4 separate regions of the Homo sapiens genome follow, and all the other regions are linked to region 2. The links are contacts of gene promoters, found by promoter capture Hi-C in human tissues and cell types (Jung and others, 2019). All regions are on one chromosome and are shown on one strand. Each heading gives the region's core, a stretch centred on a gene start or on the middle of the fragment in contact. The rest is flanking DNA. Distances are from core to core; before and after follow the strand shown. Region 1 has its middle 21 kb from the start of LMX1B-DT. Region 2 holds the start of ZBTB43 (zinc finger and BTB domain containing 43). Region 3 overlaps LMX1B (LIM homeobox transcription factor 1 beta). Region 4 has its middle 62 kb from the start of LMX1B-DT.

Evidence for each region. Contacts are between HindIII fragments. The study calls those that stand out against the background at their distance.
Region 1: a contact is called between a fragment that was not itself captured here and the fragment with the promoter of ZBTB43 in region 2, in 2 of the 25 tissues and cell types used here (mesendoderm cells and thymus).
Region 3: a fragment that was not itself captured here is called in contact with the fragment with the promoter of ZBTB43 in region 2 in 2 of the 25 tissues and cell types used here (bladder and mesenchymal stem cells).
Region 4: a fragment that was not itself captured here is called in contact with the fragment with the promoter of ZBTB43 in region 2 in 2 of the 25 tissues and cell types used here (aorta and lymphoblastoid cells).

Annotation. Positions count from the first base shown.
Region 1 is chr9:126,591,648-126,594,347 of GRCh38, reverse strand. No RefSeq gene overlaps it. Among named protein-coding and RNA genes, the nearest start is that of LMX1B-DT, 21 kb to the left of the region's middle. The HindIII fragment of the contact is 5,469 bases long and covers 1-2,700 here.
Region 2 is chr9:126,803,658-126,806,357 of GRCh38, reverse strand. ZBTB43 (zinc finger and BTB domain containing 43) reads right to left here and starts at 1,318. Exons shown (of 3, transcript NM_014007.4): 1 at 1,226-1,318. RefSeq lists enhancers at 144-293, 444-553, 964-1,023, 1,091-1,592 and a silencer at 1,654-1,703. The HindIII fragment of the contact is 16,594 bases long and covers 1-2,700 here.
Region 3 is chr9:126,664,919-126,667,618 of GRCh38, reverse strand. The region is part of intron 2 of LMX1B (LIM homeobox transcription factor 1 beta); the gene reads right to left. Among named protein-coding and RNA genes, the nearest start is that of LMX1B, 52 kb to the right of the region's middle. RefSeq lists an enhancer at 1,178-2,017 and a silencer at 1,895-2,189. The HindIII fragment of the contact is 9,165 bases long and covers 1-2,700 here.
Region 4 is chr9:126,550,342-126,553,041 of GRCh38, reverse strand. No RefSeq gene overlaps it. Among named protein-coding and RNA genes, the nearest start is that of LMX1B-DT, 62 kb to the left of the region's middle. The HindIII fragment of the contact is 5,058 bases long and covers 1-2,700 here.

The DNA.
Region 1 (2,700 bases), core at 80-2,579, 210 kb after region 2:
TGGGAGTATAAGCTACATACTCTTCTCCCAAATTATAAACCAAATTTTTTTTCTAGTCAAGTTCCCGATGCTTGTAGAGGAAGGTCTGACCTCAGACTTTGCACGTCATCATCATCTACCCAATTTGAAACAAGTTATTTCTGCTTTTTTGTCAAGGGTCTATTACTATTTGTAGGCATTGCTTTTGTTTTGTTTTATTTTGTTTTGTTTTGTTCTGTTTGGAGACAGAGTCTCTCTCTGTTGCCCAGGCTGCAGTGCAGTGGCACAATCTCGGCTCACTGCCACCTCCGCCTCCTGAGCTCAAGCAATTCTTGTGCCTCAGCCTCCCAAGTAGCTGGGATTACAGGAGTGTGCCACCACACCTGGCTAATTTTTGTATTTTTTGTAGAGACAGGATTCCACCATGTTGGCCAAGCTGGTATCACACTGCTGACCTCAAGTGATCTGTCTGCCTTGGCCTCCTAAAGTGCTGGGATTACAGGCGTGAGCCACCGCGCCTGGCCAAGGCATTGTTAATTGAGCTTTCAAACAACCCCATGCCCATGGGATAGGTATTACCTCTGGTTTTTGTAGAAGAGGAAACTGGGACTCAATGAGCTGGGATTTGAACAAGTGCCTCCCTGATTTCACTTACTTGTTCATAAATATTTCTGCAGCACCTAACTGTTTCAGACCCCATCCTAGGTACTAGGATACAGAGATGACCCACAGAGGGTCTTGTCCTCCTGGAGCTCACATCTAATGGGGTCATCATGTCTGAGCAGACAACTGTGGTATGGGACTGTCTGTCTGCCCACCTACTGCAAGGCAGCTCCTCAAAGGAATCTGCATCTGATCCACTCTGGGTGACAGCCCAGCACAGCTGAAATCAGCGGATGTTTGTTGAATGAATAAGTAAATAAATAAAGTTAAAAAAAAAACAACAAAGCTTGAAGTTGTTAATGGAAGTCTAGTGCCTCTGAAACTAGCAAACCTTTGTAAAAAATTTTAATAACATTTAAGTTATGAATATAATGTACTTCATTTTAGAAAAATTGGAAAGCATAGAAAAGCACAAATGAGAAAATAAAAATAATCCATAATACCAGCCCCCAGAGTTAGTCTTTTTGTTTTTCATTTTTTATTTTTTAATATTTATTTATTTATTTATTTGAGATGGAGTCTTGCTCTGTCACCCAGGCTGGAGTGCAATGGCACAATCTCAGCTCATTGCAACCTCCATCTTCCAGGTTCAAGGGATTCTTCTGCCTCAGCCTCCTGAGTAGCTGGGATTACAGGCACACATCACCATGCCCAGCAAATTTTTTGTATTTTCAGTAGAGATGGGGCTTCACCATGTTAGCCAGGCTGGTCTTGAACTCCTGACCTCAAGTGATCAGCCCGCTTTGGCCTCCCAAAGTGCTGGGATTACAGGTGTGAGCCACTATGCCTGGGCTTATTTTGTTTTTTCTGCATAAACATCCTTTAAGAAAAAAATTTGGATCACACCATCTACATAGCTTTGTTGTTTGCAATGAGAAAAATCTCTAACAATGCATCATGACCATTTTCCTAAGCGAATATCCCTTTAAAGCTAAGCGTCTACTTAGAGGTTGGATTTATTTTTTGCCAGTGATGACATTCTTCACCACATAAAATACTTATAAACTCAAGATTAAGGCTGAAATCACAATGGGAAGAATAGCAGGCTTTCAGGCTGCATGCTGTGCCTCAGTCTCGATTACACAATCCTTCCCCAGCAAACGCCAGGGAAATTCGACGAAGACATCAGCCTGGGGGGATCAGTCTTCCTTGGACCCTTTAATACTAGGAGTTGTATTATCAGCACAACCGCTTTCTGCAGTTCCGATCTTTGCAGGTACTACTAAAATTTCCTCTTGGCTGCAGAGAGGAACTATCATACAGTCTTTAGAGCATGTGATTAAGGGCTGGCTCTGGAGTCGGACCTCCACCTAAGTCCTGCTGCACCTGAGATGGTCGTGTGACCTTGGCAAGGGACTTCACTCTGTGGGCTCTAGATCCCTCATCTGTAACTCAGGGCAGCTACTGTACCCACCCCTGCAGGCAGTCATGAGGAATCAATAGCACAGTGCCTAACACATAAGCCACCCATAAATATCAGCTATTATTATGACAACTTGTGTGTTTGGAGCTTCTGCTCTTATTTTCTGAGCTGCGCTTGCCATTCGCTGGTATCAGGGCTGCTCTTGGCAGCTTGTCTTGATGGGAAGATAATCCAGGCCTTATGAAGTATCTGGATGGCTGCCATCATCTTGCTTGGAGGCACTGGGCATGGGTGTCTCAAGCATGCTCTGACCCCACCTGCACCTTAAGCAGCCACGCACCACAATTCCACTGACAGAGGCTTATGATTTTATTTTATTTGTTAACAAGTTCATTTATGACATGATTACATTCATTATGATGTGATTACTGTACAAATAATCAGGGGAGGCAAGATCACATCATAAATAAGTTTATGGTCTTTGGAGTTGGACAACATGGGTTCAAATCCCAGCCCTCTTACTTAATTTTTTTTGCAACACAGGGTCTCACTGTGTTGCCCAGGGTGGAGTGCAGTGGCCCAATCATGGCTCACCACAGCCTTGACTTCCCAGGCTCAAGCCATCCTCCCATCTCAGCCTCCCGAGTAGCTGGGACCACAGATGGCATGTGCCACCACGCTTGGCTAGTTGTTTT
Region 2 (2,700 bases), core at 69-2,568:
TAAAGCAAATAATAAATTCCCAATTATTAGGTTTCTTATAATTTAACTGAAAATGCTGACACAATCTCTGAACTAAGCATGCAGTTATCCCAGAAACCCTGCTACTGTTCCAGTAGCCCCAAAGACCTCAGTCTGATCCTTTCTTAGCCTGTAGACAGGCCTGTTAAACAGCTGTAACTCAAAGAGCAGGCTCCAGAGATCCCTGGAGACCATCCTGTGGTGAGTGGATAGAGCGAAGGCATTTGGGAAGCTGTGCAGGCCTGAGAAACCACAGGCGAGAAAAGGAGAGGACTCATCAAGCTGCTCTGGCCCTAAAATGGGCCTCCTGTCTCCCTGACAGGCTCTCCTGCACTCTGACACTTATGTTGGGCGACACCTGTCAGAGTTGAGGCCAAACTGCGGTCGAGTCACTGAGAGTGTCACCAGTGCAGGGAACTTCACGGGGTCATGAGTCACCTTCCATGGCTCAGAGGTCTGGGCAGCCCTGCCCCACCCAAACTCAGGAAAGAGAGACAAGAGGCAAAAACAAAGTTGGCAGAAAGAGAGAAACAGACAGATGGCCAAAAAGCCAGACTGACAGGCCCTGAATTAGAGTAAGGGCTGAGTGGCAGAGACAGGGTGAACAGACACAGAAGCAAGGTGGAGACAGATATAAAACAGGATCCAGATACCCCGACAAAGACAAAGTGGAGAGAAATATCAGGTTGACAGCGACCTAGCTGAAAGACAAAAAGGGCAGGTTACAACAGGTGACAGAGACAGCAACAGGGGATGCTGAATGTTTTACTTAAACAGAAGATCAGCTAAGTCCAGGCGCAGTCTTTCTCCCAGCTCGGCTCGTCAGGCCTCAGGCATTGGTGGCTCGAACCCGAGGTCGTCAAGCCGCGCCCACCCTACGCCCCGAAAGGCCAGCGGACGGACGGGGGCGGGATCTCTAAGCGCTGTGGCCGGCGGAGCTCCGCCGCCGCGAGGGTGACCTTGGGCGAGAAGCTGCCCCAAAGGCCTCGGTATCGCGGTCTGCGCGCCGTGTGGGCAGAAGACTGCGGGATTCGGAGCTGGAGCGCCGGGACCCCAACCTCCCGCGCGGGGCTTTGGTATGCCGGTCCACGGAATGGGCCTGGCGGGGCCAGCGGCGCGAGCGTCGGGGCCTGCTGAGGAGCCCTTAACTCCCCCACCGACTTCTCCTCCCCTACCCTTGCCGCCCGTGGTCCTGGCCACGCAGTACCTGCCAAGGGCTCAGCGCTCACATCCCCCGCCCAAGATATCCTCTCTGCCGCCGGCGCAGGCCTGTTGTAGCCTCAGCTGCCGCAACAGATTCAGCCTGTGCCTTCAGCCCCCGGAAACGCTTCCCGGTCCCGCCCCCCGAAACTGACAGTGCTTCCGGGGGTGCGTCAGAGAGAAAGCGGAGTGCGCATGCGGGACTTACCGTCTGAGCTGGGCGTCGGGAGAGAGCGCGGAGGTAGCGGGCGCCTGCGCAGTACACTCTGGAGCGGGTCAATTTTAGGGACTGACTACGCTGTTGAAAATAGGGGAGCAGATACTGAGTTCTAAACCTTCTTGAAACCTTGGCATAGGCCAGGCGCGGTAGCCCACGTCTGTAATCCCTGCACTTTGGGAGGCCGAGAGGGGATGATCGCTTGAGGCTAGGAGTTCGAGACCATCCTGGCCAACATGGTGAAACCCTGTCTCTACAAAACATACAAAAATTAGCTGAGCGTGGTTGCGCGCGCCTGTAATCCCAGCTACTTGGGAAGCTGAGACAGGAGAATTGCCTGAACCCGTGAGGCAGAGGTTGCAGTGAGCCGAGATCACGCCGCTGCACTCCAGCCTGAGCACAGAGCAAGACTCTTAAACAACAACAACAACAACAACAAAACAAACAAAAACACCTTGACCTTCTCCGTCTCTTCTCTAAACAAACGAACGAAAACCTTGACCTCAGTATGCCTGGCGGAGATTATCTCCAAATCCGTTTCTGCCTTCACAGCACCCATCTCGCTTTTTGGCATGTAGTAGATGCTCAGTAAATGGTCAATGAAAGGACCAGTGCCTTTCCGTGGGCTGCATTGTGCTGGGCACTGGGGTCACACAGATGGTGGGACAGAAACGATCTCTCTAGCCTCCAATTCTCCCACTCCCTCCCAAAACCTCCATACCTCTTCTCGCCCCTTTCTTCCCCACTGCCCCCCCATGTTAGTGTAGAAGAGAGATAGGTCTTTAGCGGTGGGACTCTTACCTTTGGACCCGTTTACAGACCAAGTGCCCTCTTTGTAGAAGAACTAATTTATACCTGAAATCCAGGCAGCTGAAGCGATGTGGTCATAATGCCTTCTGGATTTAGGGTGGATGTTCTCGTGGGGCCTGACATGCCTGTTTGATATTGTCTGTCTCAGTTTAAGCTGATTGGTTTCCCAGCTGTTATGCCTGTCTTGCTTGTTGTTGGGCCCTAGGACACAGGAGTGTAGCTTTCCTAGAGAATTCTACCAAAAAAATTTTTTTTTCTAGAAAACAAAATGAAAGAAAACAAATATGGAAGCACAGAAATGGGAGTGGATGCAGAACAGCTTGTCAAAGATTCTACTTCAAACATGTATGCTCCAGCTCCCCCGCCTTGTGGTTTTGTTTTGTTTTGTTTTGTTTTTTTTTGGAGACGAATTCTTGCTCTGTTGCCCAGGCTGGAATGCAGTGGCACAATCTTGG
Region 3 (2,700 bases), core at 192-2,691, 140 kb after region 2:
CACCTCCAGATCTATAGCACCGGCCCCTCCCTCAAGCTCCCAGCCTCTCTGGGGATCCAGACCCCTTTACTGGCCTGCTTCCTGGGCTGCTCTGTGGATGCCCCCAAGGCAGCACCGCCCAGTGTGTTTATACTCCAGCTCCCGTCACGCGGCACATGCGCACAAAGATATATGTACCAGGATGCTCACTGATGTATGGTGTGTGTGACAGCAAAGCACTGGCAGCTGCCCAAAGGGCTGTCAGTAGGGAAATGGGTTCATAAATCAAAGTTCACCCATTCCCTGGACTGTTACGTCGTGGCTGCAAGATACAGCAAATCTGCGTGTACTGATGTGCGCAGGTGTTCTCAGCGTGTTGCTAAGTGGGACAAGCCAGTACAGAGCAGAGCAGTTAGAGGAAATATGGATCCCATCAAAAGGAAAACCAAGTGGATGTGCACAGAACATGCTCCTATGTTGTAGGAAAGGCCTGGAACGTTACGCATCTGTCAACTGACCGCCTCTGGGAAAGGGGTGAGGGAACGGATGAATACTGTCCCATTTTGTTTGACTTCTGCTTTGCCTGAATTTATTTTACAATGAGCAACAACGATTTTGTAATATAAAAAATAAAAAATCTATAAGAAATACAGAGAACAAAAGAGACCGATTTGTCATTTCGCCCTAAGCTCAGTTCCCTCTGACCAGCTCTTCTGGAAATGACTGTTCTCCCAGGGCTGAGAGAGAAGAAACCTCGAACCCTTCGCCCAGGCCTCTTCCTCTCCCATTCTTCCCACGCCGCCCCTCTGCAGGCCCTCATCCCTGTATACCTGCCCTGCCCAGGCCTCCTTGTCCCCTCTGCTGTCTCCTGTCTCTTTCAGAATGAAAATCAAACTGCATCACGGCCTGCTCAGAAGTCTTCAGAGTCTCTCCACTTACACGCAACAGGACAGGGCAGCCCTGACTACCCAGTGTGTTATCAGCGTACAGCACATAGAACATGCGTACGTAAAGCACGTACGTAAAGCACATAGAATGGCGCCAGTGAGGTTATTATTAGCATTGCTATTAACAACCTGTTTTTCTCACTTCCCTTCTTCCTTTTGCCCTCAATTTCCTTTCTTTGCCCTCACTTACTTTTCCACCCTCTTTCTCCCTTCCTGCTTCCCTTTCCTCTTTCCAGAAATGGATCTGCAGCTCCAGCCACACCAGGGCAGGCTCTCCCTAATCCCATCAGCCTCTGTCACCTGGCTCAGCTGCTCTGGACTCTGAGGTCCGTGGCCTCAACTCCGTGCCTTGGCTCTCCCTGTCCCCTCTCCTGGGCCTGCCCCCTGCCCCTCCAGGGCTGTCAGCTGAATGCTTTTCATCCTTCCAGGCTGGATTCGATGGGCACTTCCTTCAGGGAGCCTGCCTGCTCCCAGCATCTTCCAGTGGGCTGCCCCCCAGGAGGTGGTGAGCAGAGCACCAGAGCTGCGTTCAGACCCGTCTGTGCCTCTCAGCAAATCTCTCAAACCTCAGTTTTCCCATCTGTAAAATAGGCCGGCCATAGAAGCTGCCTGGTAGGTTGTTCTGAGGGTTACTGAGGCGCAGGGCAGACCGCCTCGGCACAGCGCCTAGCTCGGGAACCTCTGCGTAGGAGCTGTGATGAGAGGCCTCCTCCTCCGATCTTTGTTCACCAGCACATCTCAGCCTCTCCGCACATGCTGCCTGCTGGGTTCTGGTCAGCGTTTGCATTCACCCTGGAGACAATGGTGTAGCCCTCGGGGAGGGCCCACGCTGGCCTTGTTGGGGCTGTGAGGAGGTCTCCATGCAGAGGGACACAGCTGAGCTGCCCCGGGCTGGCATGGGCTGGCCCCACCGAGGTAGCGGGCTACCCGGGGGGTTGGTAGGGGGCAGCTGGTGCCTACTCTGTTCAAAGGCCAGCGATTCTCCACGGCTGGTGAAGCGGGTGGAAGGCTGTCCTGTGAACCCCTCCTTCCAAAGACACACCACCCAGGGGAAGGAGTGGTCCAGATCAGAGACAGGGCAACCCCGCCCCTGCAGCCCAGCAGAAGGAACACCGGAGGCGCTTTTGTTTCTCTGGTAAGAGGAGCCTCCCGCCTCCTCCAGACTCACCCTCCCAGAGCAGCCCCGCTGGCCGGTGGCCGCCAAGCTCCAAACTGGGCGAGCCTTTTCTCCAACACTCAGTAAATACTCAATACTGCATTAAAGCAATAAATAGTCATTTTAAGGAAACCGAGACTCAATTTAGCCACCAGAGTCAGGAGCAGCGGTTAGCAGGGCTGCGGAATGTCACTGCACAGCTGGCAGCCCCGCCCCCGCCGCCCCAGCCCTGGCTCCAGGGGGAGGCCCAACAATGGCCGTGCCAGGCTGCACCGCCCCTCCCCCCAAATCAGGTTACGATGGACCGTGGAGGAGGGGGACCGGCTCAGCCAGCAGCTAGCTCCAGGGAGCTGGAGGAAGCCAGAGAGGCGCGAAGGCATGGAGGAACACCCCACCTCCACCTGGGGATAATAATAATAAAACTAACAAGAACAGCAGCATTGGCAGGAAGAAGACAAGCAATTCCTGAATGGACACTTGCCCAACGCAAGCACAGCGCTAAGGACGGTACAGGCATCCCTGTGTTTAATGCTTCAGCCTCTCCAATGAGAGAGATACCTTCATCCCAACTTCGTAGGTAGAGAAACTGAGGCTCAGGAAGCTGAATTACTTTGGTCA
Region 4 (2,700 bases), core at 169-2,668, 250 kb after region 2:
GCCTCAGCCTCCCAAGTAGCTGGGATTACAGGCGCCCGCCACCACACCTGGCTAATTTTTGTATTTTTAGTAGAGACAGGGTTTCACCATGTTAGCCAGGCTGGTCTTGAACTCCTGATCTCAAGTGCTCCGCCCACCTTGGCTTCCCAAAGTGCTGGGATTACAGGCGTAAGCCACTGCCCGTGGGCTCTATGTTCTTTTTATAATCATCTGTCCATTAATGTGTTTACCCTGATTTTATTTTATAATTAACTAAAAACCAAATCCACATTATTATTATTATTATTTGAGACGGAATCTTGCTCTTGTCGCCCAGGCTGGAGTGCAATGGTGTGATCTCTACTCACCACAACCTCCGCCTCCCGGGTTCAAGCAATTCTCCTGCCTCAGCCTCCTGAGTAGCTGGGATTACAGGCATGTGCCACCACGCCTGGCTAATTTTGTAGTTTTAGTAGAGACGGGGTTTCTCCATGTTGGTCAGGCTGGTCTCGAACTCCCGACCTCAGGTGATCCGCCCACCTCGGCCTCCCAAAGTGCTGGGATTACAGGTGTGAGCCACCATGCCCGGCCTTGTTATTTTTGAGGCAGTGTCTCCCTCTGTCATCCAGGCTGGAGATCACTGCTTGCTGCAGCCTCGACCTCCCAGGCTCAAGAAATCCTCCCACGTCAGCCTCCTGAGTAGCTGGGACTACAAGTACACACCACCATGCCCAGCTAATTTTTAAATTTTTTGTAGAGATGGAGTTTTGCCATGTTGCCCAGGCTGGTCTCGAACTCCTGGCCTCAAGCAATCCTCCCACCTTGGCCTCCAAAAGTGCTAGGATTACAGGCATGGCAACTGCGCTGGGCCCAAATCCACATTATTTTGATGAGAGAATGAGAAATTGTTCTGGTGCCCAGTGGAGAAGAGACAGGCAAAAGATTAGGAAAGGTGGTGGGGAGGCTGCTGGCATGACCAGGTGTGGGGTGATATAGGAGGGGGGATTACCGGGGACTATGAGGGCCAGAGCCTCAGTTTCATCATCTGGAAAATGGGGCTAAGGGCCAGTCATGTGCTTAAATTACAACGTTCATATAAAAATTGCAGCCATTTATGGACGCTCACTCCACGCCCTTCACTGCCTTATTTATTAATAACTCCCCCACCCCCACCCACATTCCCAGGTGAAGACCATTATCTGCGTTTCCTAGCTAGGGAAGCTGAGCCTGTGGTCCATTGAAATCCTAGCTCAGCCATATTCAAGCGGTGTAACCCGGTCAGTTGTTCCTGAGCCTCAGTTTCCCTATCTGTAAAATGAGGACAACAGTCCCTACTTCGTGAAGCTTTGTGGAGGTCGTCGGATTGTGTACCTGAAGCTGGGTGCGTCGGTGTATGGGAGCTGTGCCTCATCATTACCAAAGAGCTGAGGTACTGTCCTGGGACCACATTGCCAACAAGTGGCTGCGCCAGGATCCCATCCAGGTTTCTCTGTCCCCAGAGCTGTGTTCCTGGGGTGGGAGGCTCCCCTGCTTAGTAGGAGCTCTGGGTGGCAGGTGTCTCCTGGTGCATAGTGGGGCTGGGCGTGGGAGGCCCTGCCCAGAGCTCCTCGCTGGTGTTGCAGCAGGGGCAGGGGCAGGGGCAGGGGCAGGGGAAGGGTCAGGGATGCTGGCCCCGTCGAGAGTTCCAGGGCCCGTGTGCTCAGTGTGGCAAGCGGTTTCCCAACAGCTGCCGCTCCGCTAATGGGCCTCCCTTCGTAGCAATCTGCTGTGATAACAGACAGGTTTAATTAAAAAGAACACGCGTCCTCCTCTGCAGGAAGGCTGCGGCCAGGATGTGGGGCCTGCAATGAAAACTTAGCTCCATAAAGCCCACACACAGGCATGGGTGCCCGGAGCTGCCGAGTTTTCTAAAAGGAGCGCACCCCGCCCCCTGCCATATCTGTTATTTATCGAGTTAATTTTGTCCTCTGGCAGCAGCATGAACCAACTCCGAGTCCCTGAGCCCTGACCCTGACTTGCCTCCCATTCCCAGGCTGTGCCAGGCACGGGCTTTTGCCTCCTGTGGGACAAGAGAGGCCGGGAATGCCAGCTTTGAACCAGGAAAACCTGGGAGGGGGGACCTGTCCCTGACTTTGTGATGCTGGGCAACTGACTCAGCCCTCTCAGAGCTCCTGTTTCTGCATCCAGGAATGGGGCAGAGGCTGATGCCGCCTCCGAAGGCTAAGTGAGGCCTGAACGAGGCAAGGGGAAAGGTGCCTGGCACCTGGTGGGTACTTGGAACGTGCTGGCTGTTGTTATGGTTGGAGTGATGACTGCTAGTGGTGGGACTGCTGGATGGAGCCCGGGGGCCTTGGTGAGAGGGTGGCTGGAATGGTTGGGCAGGCCCAGGCTGGCCCTCAAACTAGTAGACATGGATACTTTAAGAGTGGAATTAAAGCTAGGCACGGTGGCTCATGCCTGTAATCCCAGAACTTTGGGAGGTCGAGGAGGGTGGATCACCTGAGGTCAGTAGTTCAAGACCAGCCTGGCCAACATGGCGAAACCCTGTTTCTACTAAAAATACAAAAATTAGGCGTGATGGCGGGTGCCTGTAATCCCAGCTACTTGGGAGGCTGAGGCAGGAGAATCGCTTGAACCCAGGAGGCGGAGGTTGCAGGTTGCAGTGAGCCAAGATTGCACCACCACATTCCAGCCTGGGTGACAGAGCGAGACTGTCTCAAA